Linked DNA regions of Homo sapiens: regions 1 and 2 are each linked to region 3. The links are contacts of gene promoters, found by promoter capture Hi-C in blood cells and fetal thymus (Javierre and others, 2016). All regions are on one chromosome and are shown on one strand. The core of a region is centred on a gene start or on the middle of the fragment in contact, and the rest is flanking DNA. Distances in the headings are between cores, read along the strand shown.

What was found. The method cuts DNA at HindIII sites, captures the fragments that hold promoters and counts their contacts. A CHiCAGO score of 5 or more calls a contact.
Region 1: a fragment that was not itself captured here is called in contact with the fragment with the promoter of FAM216B in region 3 in 1 of 17 cell types (M2 macrophages); the score reaches 8.3 in M2 macrophages.
Region 2: a fragment that was not itself captured here is called in contact with the fragment with the promoter of FAM216B in region 3 in 1 of 17 cell types (monocytes); the score reaches 5.3 in monocytes.

The regions. Positions count from the first base shown.
Region 1 is chr13:43,798,733-43,802,266 of GRCh38, reverse strand. No RefSeq gene overlaps it. Among named protein-coding and RNA genes, the nearest start is that of ENOX1, 14 kb to the right of the region's middle. The HindIII fragment of the contact is 764 bases long and covers 973-1,736 here.
Region 2 is chr13:43,833,467-43,837,061 of GRCh38, reverse strand. It overlaps CCDC122 (coiled-coil domain containing 122), which reads left to right. Exons shown (of 7, transcript NM_144974.5): 7 at 1-710. Among named protein-coding and RNA genes, the nearest start is that of CCDC122, 44 kb to the left of the region's middle. The HindIII fragment of the contact is 4,663 bases long and covers 1-3,595 here.
Region 3 is chr13:42,779,599-42,782,956 of GRCh38, reverse strand. FAM216B (family with sequence similarity 216 member B) reads right to left here and starts at 1,373. Exons shown (of 4, transcript NM_001318932.2): 1 at 1,293-1,373. The HindIII fragment of the contact is 7,774 bases long and covers 1-3,358 here.

The DNA.
Region 1 (3,534 bases), core at 105-2,604, 1.0 Mb before region 3:
TGAAATGTAGATGTTCGATACTTGATTAAAAATTGACGTAGAGCATAGGTGAGTCCTTAAGCGACTTCACATATGAAAATCTAGACTTGCAACAACAAAAAAGTAGTTGTGGATAATTATTTTAAAAGATTATTTTAAGAGAAATAACAACAGAATTACTTTAATGAGCATCTATTAGCACATTTAAAATTTAACAAAAACAACATGGTACAGAATATTAAGTATGGTGAAATATACTGGTAGAATTAACAGAACACCAAAGGACAAGACATTGTATTATTTCTAAGCCATTCATTTTCTCACTCCTATTAATAAAAATGACCCCCCACTACCACCACATACACACACTTGAATAACACCCAATAAGTATTTTATTTATTTATTTACTTAAAAAATTTTTTTTGAGATGGAGTCTTGCTCTGTCACCCAGGCAGAGGTGCAGTGGTGTGATCTTGGTTCACTGAAACCTCCGCCCCCTGAGTTCAAGCAATTCTCCTGCCTCAGACTCCCTAGTAGCTGGGATTACAGGCATGTGCTACCATGCCTGGCTAACGTTTATATTTCTAGTAGAGATGGGGTTTCGCCATGTTGGCCAGGCTAATCTCAAACTCCTGACCTGAAGTGGTCTGCCACCTTGGCCTCTTAAATTCTATTGTACTTTACACAAGTAAAACATATTACTCAGATATTTAGGTAATTTCATTTTTAAATTTAACTAGTGTCAATATGCGTGTAATAAAGAGCTGGGACTCACTTTCTCCTGTGAACTTTCTCTGCATGTCCCTCAGGCCTTTGACTTAATATGAGAAGTTGGCAAAGTACTTACAAATCTTAGATGGCTTTATTAAAGGGATAATAAAACTGGATGACCACATGTTGACACTGAATGCACTAATGAATCCAGGATTGTATATTCTATAATTATTCAAAATGTTATTAGAATATATTATCATAAGGTCTTCACTTTAAGCTTTTCTTCTAACAGAAATAATTTAATTGATGTTTTGTCAGTTTTTCTGAAAAATGAACAACTGAACTAAAGATAGGAAGTTAGCTGTAATAGAACAATATGCGTGTTTAAGAAAGACTGTGTGGGTGAAAAAGGATTGGTGGTCTCTTGAGTTGATTATGATTCTGAGAAATAAGATATACTAAGTTCAACCACCAGCTTCCTTGATGAACCATTTTGAAAAGTTACTTAGCTAAAATGCTACCGAAAGACCAAAATGCATCTGCTAACTTACAGTATATATAGAAAGGATGTTAAGGAGGCTGATATGGTCTCTAAGCTAGTGTATATATCATATATGTGCATTGTCATTTGATTTGGCACAATCAAGAGTTGTAGGGCATTCCTAGCAACTAACATCTGAGCATTTCCTTCAGCCCAAATCTAGCATGGCTAATGTTACTGACTGTCTTCAGCCGCATTTAAAGAAAATAGCCACTAAGAAATGCACAGCCATTCTCTTACCTTTCTTTTATTTTCTATGATTCTTCAACTCTCTTATTATAAAATTCAGATTGTGTGCTCAACATTCTTCAAAGCTCAACATAACACACAAATGTCTTGGAACTCTTATATGCCATTCACACAAACAGAGGACATGAATAGCAGACTCTCAATTGTAAGTCACATGCGTCCTGATATCAGTGTCTGGCTTCTGGGGCTTGACAACTCACAAGGTTTAAATAAACATATCACACATTTTCTTAATGAAATGAAAGGTTAAGCTTAAACTTTTTAAGGCTCGTGCTCGTCCATTGATTGCATTTTGCATGATATAATTAAGTTTATTAAAGAAGTGCCTATGTACCTGAGCTACTGAATAGAAGTAGCAGCAGTTGGGAGAATGATATGACTGGAAAGTAGTATTGACAATTGGCATTACAAGTTTCACTAAATGAAACAGAAAACTAACAATATGTAATGGATTTTGTGGGTTGAGCAGCAGCCAAGATGGCGAGGATGTCAGGCCTTGCTATGGATTCAATAATTAGTTCATGAGTTCTGCTGACTTGATGTCTATAATATTATTTATTTATTTATTTATTTTAATTAAACAACTATTTACTAAGCACTGGCTGTGGGCCAGAGTCAGAGTTAAGTGCTCTCTCACAAAGGTAACAAAATAGATATACTTCTTGTCATGTTCAAGACCTGTCAAGACCCATATCACTATGAAGTTCCCGCAGCATTAGTTGAGAAAGGCAGGGAAATTACCATATGATTCAGCAATCCCACTCTTGGGTATTTACTCAAAGGATAAAAAGTTCGATATCTGCACTCCCATGTTTATTGCAGTACTACTTACAATAGCAAAGGTATGGAATCAACCTAAGTGTCCATCAGCAGACAAATGGATAAAGAAAATGTAAGAATGAAATCCTGTCATATACAGCAACATGGATGGAATTAGAGGTCATTATGGTAAGTGAAATAAGAACAGGCATGGAAAGACAGATGCTTCATGTTCTCACTCATATGCGGGAACTAAAAAAGTTACTTATAAGGACGTAGAGAATAGAATGACAGATAGCAGAATCTGGGAAGGCTGAGTGGGTGGGAGAGGGATAACAAGAGGCAGGTTAATGTGTACGAACATATAGTTAGGTAGAAGGGCTAAGTTTTAATATTCACTAGCAGAATGGGGTGACTATAGTTAACAACAATGTATTTTATATTTCAAAATAGCTAGAAAGGGGACTTGAACTGTCCCCAACACATAGAAATGACAAATACTCAAGGTAATGGATACCTGGAATACCCTGACTTAATCATTACATGTAACAAAATATCACATGCACTCCATAAGAATGCGCAAATATTTGTACCAACTTAAAACCAGAAGAGCAGGGTAGAGATCCTGTAGGCTGGGATTTCCCTGATGACGTGGACAAGGCACTTAACCTCTTAGTCTCACTTTCCACTATCATACAAGGACAGAAAGAGGATAACAGTAAAACTGCTCCATCTGGCTTTCTCCCATTGTCGGTGTGATGTACAAATGAGATAATCGATATGAGAATGCTTTGAAAATTGTAAAGCACTCATTTTATTTTCACCTTGCTATAGACAGAAATAATAATTTCCACCTATTCACCTCATATGGATGTTGTTGCTTCTTGGCATTTATTGAACAACAACACTCTCTCTCTGATTTACAAATAGAATTAGACAGAGTTCCTGCCCTGTGATTTTAAACCAGGCAGACATGCATGATAAAAAGATGAGAAAACATTCAAGGTAGACAATATTTTGTGATGATCACTAATGTATTTATAAAAGGCTTATGTATTTTTTAGATGGAAAGTGCTATGGGCATTTTTCATAGTTCTTAAGATATTTGCTTATTGTGAAAAATGATAACCTAAATGATTTAAAAAAAGAAGAAAAGAAAGATACAAGAGGATTGAAAAAAAATGAAATTGGAAAGAAGGAAAGAAAGAGGCATGGGGCAGGTGAGACCAAAAAATGTACTGAACATCTTGTTACATGCTTTAAATTACACTGCGTCCTAGATGGGGGAAACA
Region 2 (3,595 bases), core at 774-3,273, 1.1 Mb before region 3:
TCTACGGGAAAATAATGCAAGAGTCTCTGTGACTATTTGGAGTGTGTAAAATGTATTATACTCATGAATACCTGTTTATGTTGCATTCACTACCCTATGAAGTAAAAATTTAGAAGGGAAAAAACACTCGAATTTTCACTGATTTAAATTGTTAAGATTTTTAAAATGTTTGTCTGTTTCGAACTTTTTTTTTTTTTTTTTTTTTGAGACGGAGTCTCGCTCTGTCGCCCAGGCCGGACTGCGGACTGCAGTGGCGCAGTCTCGGCTCACTGCAAGCTCCGCTTCCTGGGTTCACGCCATTCTCCTGCCTCAGCCTCCCGAGTAGCTGGGACCACAGGCGCCCGCCACCGCGCCCGGCTAATTTTTTGTATTTTTAGTAGAGACGGGGTTTCACCTTGTTAGCCAGGATGGTCTCGATCTCCTGACCTCATGATCCACCCGCCTCGGCCTCCCAAAGTGCTGGGATTACAGGCGTGAGCCACCGCGCCCGGCCTGTTTCGAACTTTTTATTGGAACTTGTTTTTTTACAGCTGCCTTCACAGTAGCCCATAAATATTGATATTTATAATAATGTTTTTGTATGTTCAATGCTTCAAATATTTTACTCCATTTTCTCTTTTATCCAGAAGGTAACAATCATTTTTCTTTGTTATAAAATAACATATTTTGAGTGATACGATGAATAAAATATTTTGTTCACTTTCTATAAATTATTCGTATTCTGTGACTAAATTAAAGTTATAACATCATGTAACTCTTAAGAGTATTACTCACTATAGACTAACATATTTTTTCTCACTGAAAGGCAAAATGTCAATAAATCAAATGTTAACTTGTCCCTTTCAAGATAAACGTGCTCCTCCTTTTCATGGTTCCATTGAGTCAAATACTTAGAAACAAAAACAAATAGGAAGATATGGTTTTAAAATATTCATTTGTAGGATTAAATAATTTCAAACAGCATCAAAAAATATTTAAAATCCATTTTCTCCTTACCTTTCTATGTGCTAAAATTCAGTAAGTGGAGCTGATATAAAACCTGATATTAATAATCTTATTATGTCTAACAGTAATAGTTTTATTGTGGCTTAGCATGGCTTAATGTGGCTTACACTTCAAACAGCTTATCCTGTAACACAATCAGCTTTGGTCCATGACTCAGAAACAAAGCTACAGTGAAAATGGTGAAACCTACAGATTGTGGGGAGTACACACTATACTCGGCTGGAGATAAGCCAGAACCAAATGCTGATTATATAAGTATATTTTAATGTAACTTGCATATTAAAAAGTTATTATATTTTCTAAGTGTAGTTATCGCTTATAAAAAATTATAGTTTTCTAAAGTGTTTTAAAGTTTATATTGAGATTCAAAATATTTGTAAATGATAACACCTTGAGTTATAGATTCAAAAACTTGTTTTTAAATTCAGATATGAAGAAAATAGCTGTAATCTGCTTAAGATAATGTGCTCTATTTTTAAAAGTAAGTTTTAATGTAGTTTTCTAAAATATCCTTAATACATATACCTATTTTACATTTTATGACAGTCAAAAATTCTTTGAAAAAGAAACTTTTTCTCCTTGTTCTTTCTTTTTTTATTATACTTTAATTTTTAGGGTACATGTGCACAATGTGCAGGTTTGTTACACATGTATACATGTGCCATGTTGGTGTGCTGCACCCATTAACTCATCATTTAGTATTAGGTATATCTCCTAATACTATCCCTCCCCACTCTCCCCACCCCACAACAGGCCCCAGTGTGTGATGTTCCCCTTCCTGTGTCCATGTGTTCTCATTGTTCAATTCCCACCTAGGAGTGAGAACACGCGGTGTTTGGTTTTTTGTCCTTGCAATAGTTTGCTGAGAATGATGGCTTCCAGCTTCATCCATGTCCCTACAAAGGACATGAACTCATCATTTTTTATGGCTGCATAGTATTCCATGGTGTATATGTGCCACATTTTCTTAATCCAGTCTATCATTGTTGGACATTTGGGTTGGTTCCAAGTCTTTGCTATTGTGAATAGTGCCGCAATAAACATACGTGTGCATGTGTCTTTATAGCAGCATGTTTTATAATCCTTTGGGTATATACCCAGTAATGGGATGGCTGGGTCAAATGATATTTCTAGTTCTAGATCCCTGAGGAATCGCCACACTGACTTCCACAATGGTTGAACTAGTTTACAGTCCCACCAACAGTGTAAAAGTGTTCCTATTTCTCCACATCCTCTCCAGCACCTGTTGCTTCCTGACTTTTTAATGATTGCCATTCTAACTGGTGTGAGATGGTATCTCATTGTGGTTTTGATTTGCATTTCTCTGATGGCCAGTGATGATGAGCATTTTTTCATGTATCTTTTGGCTGCATAAATGTCTTCTTTTGAGAAGTGTCTGTTCATATCCTTTGCCCACTTTTCAATGGGGTTGTTTGTTTTTTTCTTATAAATTTGTTGGGGTTCATTGTAGATTCTGGATATTAGCCCTTTGTCAGATGAGTAGATTGCAAAAATTTTCTCCCATTCTGTAGGTTGCCTGTTCACTCTGATGGTGGTTTATTTTGCTGTGCAGAAGCTCTTTAGTTTAATTAGATCCCATTTGTCAATTTTGGCTTTTGTTGCCATTGCTTTTGGTGTTTTAGACATGAAGTCCTTGCCCATGCCTATGTCCTGAATGGTATTGCCCAGGTTTTCTTCTAGGGTTTTTATGGTTTTAGATCTAATGTTTAAGTCTTTAATCCATCTTGAATTAGTTTTTGTATAAGGTGTAAGGATGGGATCCAGTTTCAGCTTTCTACATATGGCTAGGCAGTTTTCCCAGCACCATTTATTAAATAGGGAATCCTTTCCTCATTTCTTGTTTTTGCCAGGTTTGTCAAAGATCAGATAGTTGTAGATATGCGGCATTATTTCTGAGGGCTCTGTTCTGTTCCATTGGTCTATATCTCTGTTCTTTCTTATCTTGGAAACTATTTCAGATAATAGAGAATTTCAGATTAATTAAGAACTAAAATTTGAGGTATCCAAAGCCTGATGATTTAGTGGATATGATATTTCAACACAATCATAAACTCTAATATTAGAAAATTGAAGTTATTTTTAATTTTAGTTCTGTATAATTGAACCTAGCTTAGAATATGAGCTCTTTTGCTTAGTGGCGTTTCACACACATGCTTCTGTTTTAAAGCTCAGTCTCTTTGAGGTAAATATTCAGTTCAAAATTCTCCTCTTCTTCGTTTTTTTTCTGCATGGAAGTGTTCTAAGTACCTGGTGGACTTGTTGTGTCATCAGGGACACTGCTCTGCACCAAATGTCATTTTCTGATCTCACTGGCCTCTGCAGAGATCTAATAATCCATTCTTCCTGGTGCTTAGGATCATCGTGAGTCTGTGCTATACCTGCAATTGTTTAGTCAATGCGGTCAGCTTCATTGTCCAATCACAAGACCTCTTCTAGCCCTAGTTCATTATCTGTCTGAATGCTGGTCAAATTTTATCTCTTTGGGACCTGTTATTCTATCCATGCATTCTTCCCCACTCCTTGATTTCAGTATAAATGGATTCTTCCAAGGTTCTCAGTGCTTTTAATG
Region 3 (3,358 bases), core at 124-2,623:
AATTTATACATTTTGTGCACTTTCTCAGATCATTAAATATTCCTTAAAAATATGATTTTTAGTGGCAGTGTAGTATGCCTTTACGTCATTCTCCACTTCTTGCAATTTAGATGTGCAATTTTATAGCATTGTACTATAAAACTATTAAACTTGTCATGTTTCCACTTGCCTGAGAAAGATACAGAATAATAGAGTCACATTTGCTATGATTAAGTCTCCTTTCCTGGTGATTTAGGGTTTAGAGTCTGAAGTGTGTATAATAATATGAATTTAACAATCCAGCAAGAATAGACATATTGGAATAGGTTGCCAAATCACAAAGTGCAAACCCAGAGTATTTTCCCCTCTGCTTACTCCTTTGTCTTTGTTAGCAGTGTGAATTACTGAATGATAGAAAGTAAGACCACAGCAAATCAAACATAGTAACAATCTGCTAAACGTAGATTATTATTAATACCTGCACGTATATTAACTGAAGAAAATAAACTGTAATAGAGGCTGTATGGCCTTTAGAACTAGAAAGACTTGAGTTTCTTTCCTTCTGTAAGCCTCAGCCCTCTCATCCTTAAGACAGCAGTTACAATGCCTACCTCACTGGGTGTTTGATTCACTGAAATCGTGAATATAGAATGCTCTCACTTTATGCCAGTTTCTTCTCTCTCTACCCGACCTTCACGCATGTTCATGCACACAAACACATGCACACTCATAGGTTCATAAACATACACATGCTTAAGGAGTATTGTAATACATGTGGAGACTGATTTGAGTTCACACATCGAAGGTTCCATTCTTCCAGAAGAGAAATTTATTAGGAAAACATTAGTCAACATCTCTGTGTGTACTGTTTCTGCTATATAAATGTCTAAATTAAACTGTAAATATTTTAGTCAGTACTGCTTTCCTTTAATGTGCACTCCAGAAACCATACCAACCAAGATATACTCCTGTAATATTCTCTGTGATTGACACCTACGCTCTATCCTGTACTCAAATCATTTCAATATCCCTCCTCCCATTTTCCAGATCTGTAGAACAGAGAATAAATATGCTTCAAGCTGGAAAGATTTCTTCTCTCCTCAAATAGCATAAAGAAATGACTGATGCTCTTTCTTATGGCAACAATTCATGTGTGCTTTTCTGGGGCTACTGCTGAATAAATTTATCTTACCTATTCAAGTGGCCTATACCTGATAAAATTTGATTAAAATACTCATGGAATTCAGGGAGAGAAACATCTACAAAATAATATATCTGAAACAAAAAGACAGATTTGCCTAAAAAGAACTTACCCTATACTGTAGTTCCCCCACTTTTAAAAGCTGCCATTCCTATTCAGTGTAGTTTTCTTACGCGGACTCTGTTTATATGCTGGTGGTGGTGGTGGAAGTCTGTTGATAAGCTGATATCCAAGCAACATCATGTGATGAAACAAAGAGCTGGGGAAATCTGGCTGCATGCCTTTCTTCACTTCTGGGTAACATTCAGCTACACAGTTTGATATTTTTTCTTCCACATTTTGTGTCTAATCAAGTGTCATCTTCTAAATCTACCATATCTGTGTTACATGCAGATATCGGGGGTAACATGCATAGAGGCAGAGATTCTAAATATTAAAGGTCAACAAATCCATCAGGGCAATGGGCCATGACATAAATATTTCCAAAATTTGGAGTCAGTAGTCCCCTTCCTCATTGCTCAGGATGATGAAGGAAGAGTTCCTGAATATAGAGGTATGGGCATGAATTTGCCTGTGGTAACCTATGAAATTATTCCATAGTTTAAGCTAAGTTCCCTTTCATTTTGTGGGGGAATAAGATATTCTCCATATTTTATCTTAATTAGAGGCTACATATGATGATAATTAACCTGTGGCGTAAGACTAGAGCCCACACTGACCTCATCCTTTCTTCTGTGATAGCATTATTCTACTGGCTTCCTTTCTTTCTCAAGTGTCCTCCTTCTGAATGCCAGCTTATCTGCAAAGATGAAGAGTTCCTAAAGAAAAGGGAAGAAGAAATATCAAAAGAAAATACATTCAAAATTCTTAGGAGACTAAGGGGAAGAAAAAAGCAGGGAGATGAGAGTGATGAATCATATGCCTTAAAGAAGAAAGGGCTCAACAGATGCAAAAGTCTTGCATTTTTTCCCCAGTAATTTGAATGCAGACCTCCTGGGAAATAAGCACAGCACAAACAAGTGTCTTTAAATGCCAGTAAATAACATAAAATCTTTCACTGGATCTGAGAGGTTGATGATTCTTTACCAAGAGATAAAGAACAGTGGTGTGCAGAGTTGACATTGTCAATCGAGTCTTCCTCAAACGTTTTTCCAGGATATGATGAAATTCATTCTGGGTGCACTGCATCTGCTGATGTTGCACACACATGCTGAAATTCCTACCAGCTTGCCTTGGACGCTACTCAATCAGGAGAACAGTAACAGATCTGTGTTTGACAGAGGGCATTTAATGTAAGGAATCTGTTATGAAAATATAGAAATGGGTTAGAGGAGTAAAACAAGAAGGGTTAGGTTATCCAAGGACTGGCAATTGCACTAAACTGTGATTGCACATAGAGCTGGAGGACAATAGGGAAAATGATTTTACCCACAGCCCATGGACACTGTGCCATAGAGGCTGCTTCCTTTGGAGAACTGCTGCCTGAGCAGCGCCTCAGGAACCTGTGCTCACCAGGCACCCTTGCTTCTATGTTCTTGCCCAAACTGCTAATCTTGCTGTTGCTGTCACCACTGTTGCTGTCCATGTGGCTGCTGCTGCTGGCACTGCCACAGGTGCAAGCAGAAAGTATTTTTAAAAAATGGCTTCTTCCCTCCAGCCTTCATTCATGTCCTGCCCTCCATTGGATGCCAGCTAGCAAGGGATTTTGGGAAATGTATTTTGCAGTCTTCCTACTACTCTGATAAACAGAAGGGTATAGAAGAATCAACATGAGGCCGACAGATGGTGGACACTCTCTAACACAAACACAAATCTAAGAGGTACCTTTGGGACCTATGAAGTCAGGCAGGAGGATGAAGGACTTAGACATACAGTCAATGTTTACCTAACATCACTGAAAGTTGTCAATTTATAAGAAAAGAGGAAATAAGATAAAACTAGCTATGTAGATGGTATCAAAGAATGAGATCTAAATTTGTAGACATATTTTAAAATATAAGAATGAGGGAGTAATGCATATCCTAAGTTTGGGACAAAAAATGTTTTCCCAAAGACTAGTTTAACATTTCAAAAAGGATTTAAACTGATTACAAAAAAAATGGGAAAGAAACACCCATAATCTAATTACTATAGGGAATACAATGTCAACTATTAGTAGAAAAGTTGTACTATTTCACA